Regions from separate parts of the Homo sapiens genome. Here region 1 is linked to region 2. The links are contacts of gene promoters, found by promoter capture Hi-C in blood cells and fetal thymus (Javierre and others, 2016). All regions are on one chromosome and are shown on one strand. The core of a region is centred on a gene start or on the middle of the fragment in contact, and the rest is flanking DNA. Distances in the headings are between cores, read along the strand shown. Region 1 overlaps GPN1 (GPN-loop GTPase 1). Region 2 holds the start of EIF2B4 (eukaryotic translation initiation factor 2B subunit delta).

The links. The method cuts DNA at HindIII sites, captures the fragments that hold promoters and counts their contacts. A CHiCAGO score of 5 or more calls a contact.
Region 1: a contact is called between a fragment that was not itself captured here and the fragment with the promoter of EIF2B4 in region 2, in 13 of 17 cell types (naive B cells, megakaryocytes, erythroblasts and 10 more). The highest score is 13.7, in naive B cells.

The regions. Positions count from the first base shown.
Region 1 is chr2:27,632,929-27,637,210 of GRCh38, forward strand. GPN1 (GPN-loop GTPase 1) reads left to right here. Exons shown (of 14, transcript NM_007266.4): 6 at 1,918-1,996; 7 at 2,212-2,306. Among named protein-coding and RNA genes, the nearest start is that of GPN1, 6.0 kb to the left of the region's middle. The HindIII fragment of the contact is 9,452 bases long and covers 1-4,282 here.
Region 2 is chr2:27,368,544-27,372,662 of GRCh38, forward strand. EIF2B4 (eukaryotic translation initiation factor 2B subunit delta) reads right to left here and starts at 1,795. Exons shown (of 13, transcript NM_001034116.2): 1 at 1,741-1,795; 2 at 1,333-1,376; 3 at 871-1,006; 4 at 463-669; 5 at 111-190. The coding sequence starts at 1,771. SNX17 (sorting nexin 17) reads left to right here and starts at 2,073. Exons shown (of 15, transcript NM_014748.4): 1 at 2,073-2,263; 2 at 2,726-2,800; 3 at 4,080-4,119. The coding sequence starts at 2,201. RefSeq lists enhancers at 1,041-2,002, 1,476-1,755, 1,976-2,065, 2,003-2,964, 2,086-2,145 and 1 more. The HindIII fragment of the contact is 1,836 bases long and covers 1,138-2,973 here.

The DNA of each region.
Region 1 (4,282 bases), core at 215-2,714, 260 kb after region 2:
GTCCACCTGCCTTCTCTTGGGAAACCATGCTTGTTGTCATTAAAGTATCTGAAATACCTTTCTAATTCTTATTTAAATGAATATAGTCTACATGGTTCAGAGAAAATTTTTTAATTTACAGAGTGTCAGAATAGGAAATATTTGTTCTTATGGCCATTACCCAGTTAGCTGTTGTTCAAGGTTTACTTTTTTTAAAAAAGATAATTTATTGTTTTATAAAAATTCAAACCATGCATGATATTTATAAGATGAAACCATCACCCCGATTCCCACTAGAAGTAACATCATCATTCAGCGACTAGCATTCCACATTTCTATATACACAGATAGAAGGATGAATGGATAAAAGTGCTTTTACAAAAATGGGGTACTAGAGGTAGCTTTTGTTTTGTTTTGAGACAGGGTCTTGCTCTGTCGCCCAGGCTGGAGTACAGTGTAGTGATCTCAGCTCACTGTAACTTCCACCTCCCTGGCTCAGGTGATCCTCCCACCTCAGCCTCCCAAGTAGCTGGGACTACAGGTGTGAGCCACCACACCTGGCTAATTTTTGTATTTTTGTATTTTTGGGATGGAGTCTCGCTCTATTGCCTAGGCTGGAGTGCAGTGGTGTGATCTTGGCTCACTGCAATCTTTGCATCCCGGGTTCAAGCGATTCTCCTGCCTCAGCCTCCTGAGTAGCTGGGATTACAGGTGGCCTGCTACCATGCCTGACTAATTTTTGTATTTTTAGTAGAGATGGGGTTTCACCATGTTGGCCAGACTGGTCTCAAACTCCTAACCTCAAGTGATCTGCCCGGCTTAACCTCCCAAAGTGCTGGAACTATAGGTGTGAGCCACTGAGCCTGGCCTGGAGGTATTTTTTTTTTTTTAATGACAGCTTTATTAAGATATAATTCATATACCATAAAGTTCACTCGTTTAAAGTGTATGGTTGTTTTAGTCTGTCCACAGAGTCGTGTGTTGATAATTACTATCTTCAGAATATTTTTGTCATCCTGAAAAGAAACCCCATACTCATTACCAATCACTCCTTATTTTCTGTTCCCTTTAGCCCCTAGTGACTACCCCATTTTCCATTCCCATTGGCAATATGATTTCTCCACAACCAGTTCCTCCATAACCTTGCCAACTTTTGTTATTCTTCTTGTTTTTGATTATAGCCATTCTAGTGGATATAGAGTGGTATCTCATTGTGGTTTTTACTTTTATTTTCTTAATAACTAATGATATTGAACATCTTTTTAATGTACTTATTGGCCATTGGTATGTATATATTTAGAGAAATGTCTATTAGAATTCTTTGCCAATTAAAAAAATTCTGATATAATTCATAATTATATCAAATTAATTCACAAAAAAGTTGATATAGTTCATAAAAACAGCTTTATTGAGATAATTCACATACCATACAATTCACCCATTTAAGGTATACAATTCAGTGGCTTTTAGTATATTCACAGAATTGTACAACTATCACCACAGTCAATTTTAGAATATTTTCATCATCTCAAGAAGTAACCTGATATTCTTCAGCTAGCACTTTCCCATTCCTCCCATTCTTCTTCCTCTGTTCCACACTCACCCCCGCCCTAAGCAACCAGATGTTTCCCAAGAGATTTACATTCTGGTTTTGTGTCTTTCATTTTAAATGCATTGTGTTTCTATAAAAGTTTCCCCTGTGATCATTTGCAGCAACTCATGGTCTGCTGTTCCTGCCCATTGGCGTGAATATTGGTCATTGAACAAAGTCTAGGGGATCATCATGTGCAGTTTAGGGCCAGTAGGAGGAAGTTAGATTTGGCAGTGTGCAGAGGTTACTCCAGTCTTGGATAACCAGATGTTTATTGTCTTATATGATGGAATATCCTTCAGCATAACACAAATGTAACACTTCTTTAATGATCTTTCTTGACATAGATATGTGTTGATTGACACACCTGGACAGATTGAGGTATTCACCTGGTCAGCTTCTGGGACAATTATCACTGAAGCCCTTGTGAGTATTCTAGGACTTGCTACTGAGAGTAGCTAGAGGGGCTAGACTGGATGAGCATTTATTTTTAATTGCCTTGGACTTTATATGGGAGGAAGTTGTAGAAGCTCTGCACACCCTGCCTAAAGTGGTTTTCCCTTGTTAAGGATGGTGGAAAAAGAGTTTGAGGACAGATCGTGAGCCCTCTGACCAAGGCTTTGATTTTTTTGTGGCTTTAGGCATCCTCATTTCCAACAGTTGTCATCTATGTAATGGACACATCGAGAAGTACCAACCCAGTGACCTTCATGTCCAACATGCTCTATGCCTGCAGGTAATTGATTGTTGGTGGGGAAAGTGTTCCATCAAGGTATAAGGCCTTTTTCTCTTCTTCTTCCTCTTTTTTTTTTTTTTTTGAATCTGGTTGCTTACCCCTGGATTTGTGCTCATTCAGATTTGCTGTTCAGTTGAGTGGCTGTGAGCTGGGGAAGGTCAGAGGAGAAAAGAGGCACATGTGCTGTTGGCATTCTCTCTCAATACCCTCTGATCTTCCTCCCTTGTTGTTACAAAAAGGTGATGTATGAATATGAACTGTCTGATAGTTGTTCCCAGTTGGATAAAATCCAAGTTTAAAGATAAAGTCCTCTGGGCTGGGTCTGTCATCCCTACACTTGGGAGGCCAAGGTGGGAGGATCGTTTGAGCTTGGGAGTTTGAAACCAGGCTGGGGAACATAGCAAGACTCTGTCTCTACAAAAAATGTTTTAAAATTAGCCAGCGTGGTGGCACGCCCTTGTAGTCCCAGCTACTTGGGAGGCTGACGTGGGAGGATTGCTTGAGCTCAGGTGGTTGAGGCTGTAGTGAGCCATGATTGTGCCACTGCACTCCGGCTTGGGGCAACAAGAGCCTGGGGCAACGAGAGAGAGAGAGAAGAATAGAGTCCTCTGGCCTAAATGATGCTGGTAGAGTGAAATTGTAACATGAGGAGATACCATGAATAAGAAGATTTATCCATAATTGTAAAATGCACAGGTGGCCAGGCATGGTGGCTCATGCCTATAATCCCAGCACTTGGGGAGGCTGTGGTGGGAGGATCGCCTGAGCCCAGGAGTTTGAGACCAGCCTGGGCACCATGGTGAAACCCCATCTCTACAAAATATACAAAAAATTAGCCAGGGATGGTGGTGTGTGCCTGTAATCCCCGCTACCTGGGAGGCAGAGGTGGAAGGATTGCTTGAGCCTGGGAGGCCAAGGTTGGAGTGAGCTGTGATGATGTCACTGTACTCCAGGCTGGGCAACAGAGTGAGACCCTGTCTCAAAAAAATAAAATGCACTGGTTTGCCCCAAATGTGGCACCATTAGCAGAGGAAGGGCATGCCTCACTAGATTAGTGCATTAAGACTGAGGAGCAAGGCTGACAGTTATTAAAGCTGAGAGAATTTAATTTTGAGGGTACACAAATGCCATCACCAACATTTGTCTTTTCTGATATGACAAGGGATGTCCCTTTTTGGTGGATGCAAGAAATTGTGATCCAAATAGAAATCTGAAGATTGACAGCATTATTTCATTTTCATATTAATTATTTATTTATTTATTTATTTATATTTTTTCGAGACGGAGTCTTGCTCTGTCACCCAGGCTGGAGTACAGTGGCACAATCTCACCGTACTGCAATTTCCGCCTACTGGGTTCAGGTGATTCTCCTGCCTCAGCTTCCTGAGTAGTCACCACACTTGGCTAATTTTGTATTTTTAGTAGAGTCGGGGTTTCACCTTGTTGGCCAGGCTGGTCTCAAACTCCTGACCTCAAGTGATCTGCCCGCCTTGGCCTCCCAAAGTGCTGGGAATACAGGCATGAGCCACTGTGCCTGGCCCATTTTCATATTAATTGTTTAAAAGAAAATTATTTGATTTGCCTGATAGTGTTAATCATTTCTTTTTAAAAAAATTAATTAATTTATTTTTAGAGGTGGGGTCTCGCCATGCTGCCCAGGCTGGTTTTGAACTCGTGGGCTCAGGCAGTCCTCCCAGCGTGGCCTCCCAAAGTGCTCAGATTACAGGCATGAGTCACACCCCCAGCTGGTAATCATTTCATGATGAAACATACAGTTGATCCTTGAACAATTTGGGGGTTAGAGGCGCCAACCCCTGCAGAGACCAGCCGGGGCACCATGGTGAAACCCCATCTCTACAAAATATAAAACTTTGACTCCCCCCAAACTTAATTACTAAAGGCCTACTGTTGATTGGAAACCTTGCTGGTAACATAAACAGTAGATTAACACACATTACATATATATTATATGTATT
Region 2 (4,119 bases), core at 545-3,044:
GACTACTCTGACCCAAGCACCTATCCTTCTCACTTTGCACCCAGCACCTTTCCTCCCTCCAGTCCATTTCCCTAGGCTCTTTCTAGCCAGGCACCAAACCCACTTCCTACCTGTTGACGCTCTGGTTTTTTAACAAGCCTTCTCAGAAGTAGGTCATCAACCTGAGGGTACTCAGGGAGACGCTTCACTCCTGAAAGATAATCATCATGTTTTCAGGACACTGTAGGTCTTGAAATGTGTAATTTGCTCTTAGGGTATAAGGGGCATCAAGAAAAACAGGATGAGGTGGAGAAAACGGGAGAATAGGGTAGAAAAGGAAATAGGGATAGGATAATGGGGTTGCAGGAACAATTCAGAACTCTGGGTCCCAAGAATGAGAGGGGAGAGCTGTTTTACTATTGGGCAGCCTGAGCTGGCGTTATAATTAGGAGTAAGGGAGGTCTTAAAATGAAGGGAAGATACCTGAGGGGGTTTCTCCAGCTGTGCTGGGGCTGGCCTTAGGAGGTGGTCCTCCTTGTTCCCCTTTTCTTGCCTGTTTCAGGGCCCGCTCGGCCTCCTGCTTGGCTCGACGCTCAGCCCGAAGTTCGGCCTTACTCCGACCAGCTGGAACTTTCTCCCGAGGAGTGCCCAACTGAATGCCCGATTCTGGCAGTTCTCTGGTTGGGCCTACTAAAAGCATTAAAAAAAAAAATGCCCAAGCTGCAGGCAGGTGATATCCGTGCCCCAGCTAAAACTAGCTTCTCTCCTTGTAAACCTCTTTGCTTTACACACTTGCTCAAATCAACTTTGTCCTGTCTCTCCCTTATCTCTCCCACCACATCCCTCTACCAGCTCCACACCCCAGCCCTTTAAAAGAGACCCCTCACTCACCTTGACATTGGGCTGCAGATACAGCAGAGCCAGTCTCTGGTTCTGCCCCCTTTTCTTCCTTCCGTTTCTTCTTCTGCTGTTTCTTTTCCTTCCGAAGCTGCAGCTTTTCTTCTTTGGTCATTTCCCTCCCCACTGCCTGAGACACAGACATAGGATACTGCTCTTCCCCAACAATTCCAAAGGGGAACAAATACTATTGGATGCTTACAAGATTTCCACATGGTTAAATCCCTAGTTCTTCCTAACTTCCACAAGCTACCTGTTGCAAGCTTACATCCACAGAGGCTGACGTTTCTCCTCCAGGGACAGAATCATATATCCCTAGGGTTGCAAGACCTCTGTAAAATCTCCTGGCTTTACTGAGAAATAAACCGACACGGGATGGGAGCTGGGGCGGAATAAAGCTGGCACAGCCTCCTGCGTAGCGCTTGGCAGGCGGCTTGGGAGGGAAGCCTCACTTACCCCAGGCCCAGGGGGAAGCTCCGCCTTCATCCCGGATCCCGAGTCTGCATCAGAAAACAGGGCACAAAGTGAGCCAGAGAGACTCCGGGAGGGTTTGGGGGCACGAGTACTCGGCGCAGCCGGCTGCTGGGTTGGCATGACCACGGATCCGCCGGCAGGCGCGAGGCGAGCCAGGGATCCGCGTGGGGACGCACTGCGCGGCGGATCAAAGGAATGGAGGGGTCACCGACCCTCCTCACAGCAACCAGCCGGTGCGCGGCGCGGGACTGCGCTCGAGACTGTGTAGACCGGAGCCCAGCGTGGCGCTGGAACGGAGCGGCGGGGCCCAAAGGCGCTCAAGGCCCGGCACTAGCTGTCCGGAGCTCGTCGGCTCCGCGTACCAGTAGGCAGGCCCGGCTCTTCACTCACCCTCGCGAACAGCCACGGCCACAGCAGCCATCGCCCTCAGTCCTAGGCTCCGCCCGCCGTGGTCACGGAGCCGCCCCGCTGCCTCGCTCCGCGGCTGCAGGGTCCACAGCGCCACCTGGGCTGGAGGCTGAGCCGCAGAAGCGAAGCGCGCAGCCCCAATCGGACTACAATTTCCGACGGGCCCCGAGGCCCCGCCCCGCACTACGGGTTGCAATGAGGGCCAACTCCACTTTGGGCTCCCTATCCGGACAGGTGGCTCTTGCCCTTTAGACTACAGTTCCCAGCATGCCCAGGCGATTGCGTCCCAGAACCGACGTCCCACCGCCTTCCCACATCGGATCGCAGGGCTCCCAAAATGGCGAGTGAGGCTGCGGGGACTCGCTGAGCAGCGGAGGGGGAGCGTGCAGAGCCGCTGCGGCCCTCACAGTCCGGAGCCCGGCCGTGCCGTGCCGTAGGGAACATGCACTTTTCCATTCCCGAAACCGAGTCCCGCAGCGGGGACAGCGGCGGCTCCGCCTACGTGGTGAGGAGCGGCCGGAGCCGAGCCGGGCCGGGCAGGGGCGGGGATAACGGGCCCGAGCCATCTCGGAGCGGCCTCTGAGGCCTGACCGCCACCCTTCGGGCCTGGTCCTGGGCCGCCGACTCCCGACGGCCTCTCTGGGAGCTTATCTCATGTGTGTGATTCGTGCAGTGGTCGCCCGAGCTCCTGTAGGCCCTTAGGCCGGGTCGCTTCCCCGAGCTAGGCCGCAGCTGCCCTGGTGGGCGTCACTGGCCTCTTGGGCAGTGAGACTGCAACACAAGCGTCCGAATTTCCCCCGGACTGGCTCTTCAGCTTTGGGACTTGGCCCTGGCGAAAACAAGCGAACTATCCCTCGGGAGATTAGCGCGTTACTCCGGCGAGTTGCCAGGCAACTTCCGGCCAGGGTTCTCAGGGGGGTTGCGCAGACCGCAACCCTAAAATGCTTGACTACTTTTGTGTCCTCAGGCCTATAACATTCACGTGAATGGAGTCCTGCACTGTCGGGTGCGCTACAGCCAGCTCCTGGGGCTGCACGAGCAGGTGGGACTAGCACCCCTGCCTTGAGACAGCTTCAAGCCCTTCCCTACACGTGGACATCAGTGTCTCCCTTTACCCGCTCTTCTTGTTCCCGTAGGCTGTAGTTCCCCTTTAATCACTGCCACAGGGTAGGGCCCTGGTTTATCTTGTCTGACATTTCCGGGAACTCCCTAAGAAGCTTAATGTCCGCGCAACAACTGCTCCTTCCTGTTCTTATATTCTGGTTTTCTGTCCAGTCTTACTGCTCTAGTAGCCTTTACCCCTGCATGGACAAACCAACCCCTCCCCCCACTACCTCCACCCAGGCTGTCAAAGCACATTCCTTCTGTCATCTGAGCGGCAACTTGAAATTCTTTTCCCTGCTTATACAAACGATTCACCGATTTCCTTTTGTGTTCTTCGGCTCATTTCAGTGTGTTTAGCTGTGCCAATTATCGTTATGTATCTGTGATGCAATGTTTCTCCTCCTTCCTTACCAGATCTTAAACTCTATTTAACTCAGTAGAGCTCCACTGATAATTAGTTGTGCAACCCTGAACAAGTTACCTGATATCTTTTTTTGGGACGGAGTTTCTCTCTTGTTGCCCAGGCTGGAGTGCAGTGGCACGATCTCGGCTCACTGCAACCTCTGCCTCCTGGGTTCAAGCGATTCTCCTTCCTCAGCCTCCTGAGTAGCTGGGATTACAGGCGGCTGCCTCCACACCCAGCTAATTTTTGTATTTTTAGTAGAGAGGGGTTTCACTATGTTGGCCAGGCTGGTCTCAAACTCCTGACCTCAGGTGATCCACCCACCTTGCCTCCCAAAATGCTGAGATTACAGGCATGAGGCCTGTAGAAACTGATTTCTTTGGGCCTCAGTTTCTACAACTGAAAGATGGATTCTTTGATCTGCAAAGTCCCTTTAAGTCCTAAGATATTTTGTGAACAGACTTAGCTATTAACTGTGCACTTTATAAAGCCCTTTCCTTCCTTTAAGGGTTCAGTGAACAGTCTTGCTAGGTGGTCAAGGGGCTCCCTATAGGTCCTGGCCCAGTACAAATCCTCCCCGTACTGTGGAGGGGCTGACTTGTACACAGTAAAATAGAGCACAACTTATATCTAGGACAGCTCCCTTGAGGTGCTACCGCTGTCAAAGGAATTGTTTCTCAGATGACCAGGGTAGACAGGGGAACAGGGACTGAGGGAAGGGAGGGGCACCCAAGAGAACATTATGAGCATATGTAGATTGCCTCATCTCATTTTCTGTGTTTATGTGAAGGGTTGTATCTCTTTCTCTAAATAGCTTCGGAAGGAGTATGGGGCCAATGTGCTTCCTGCATTCC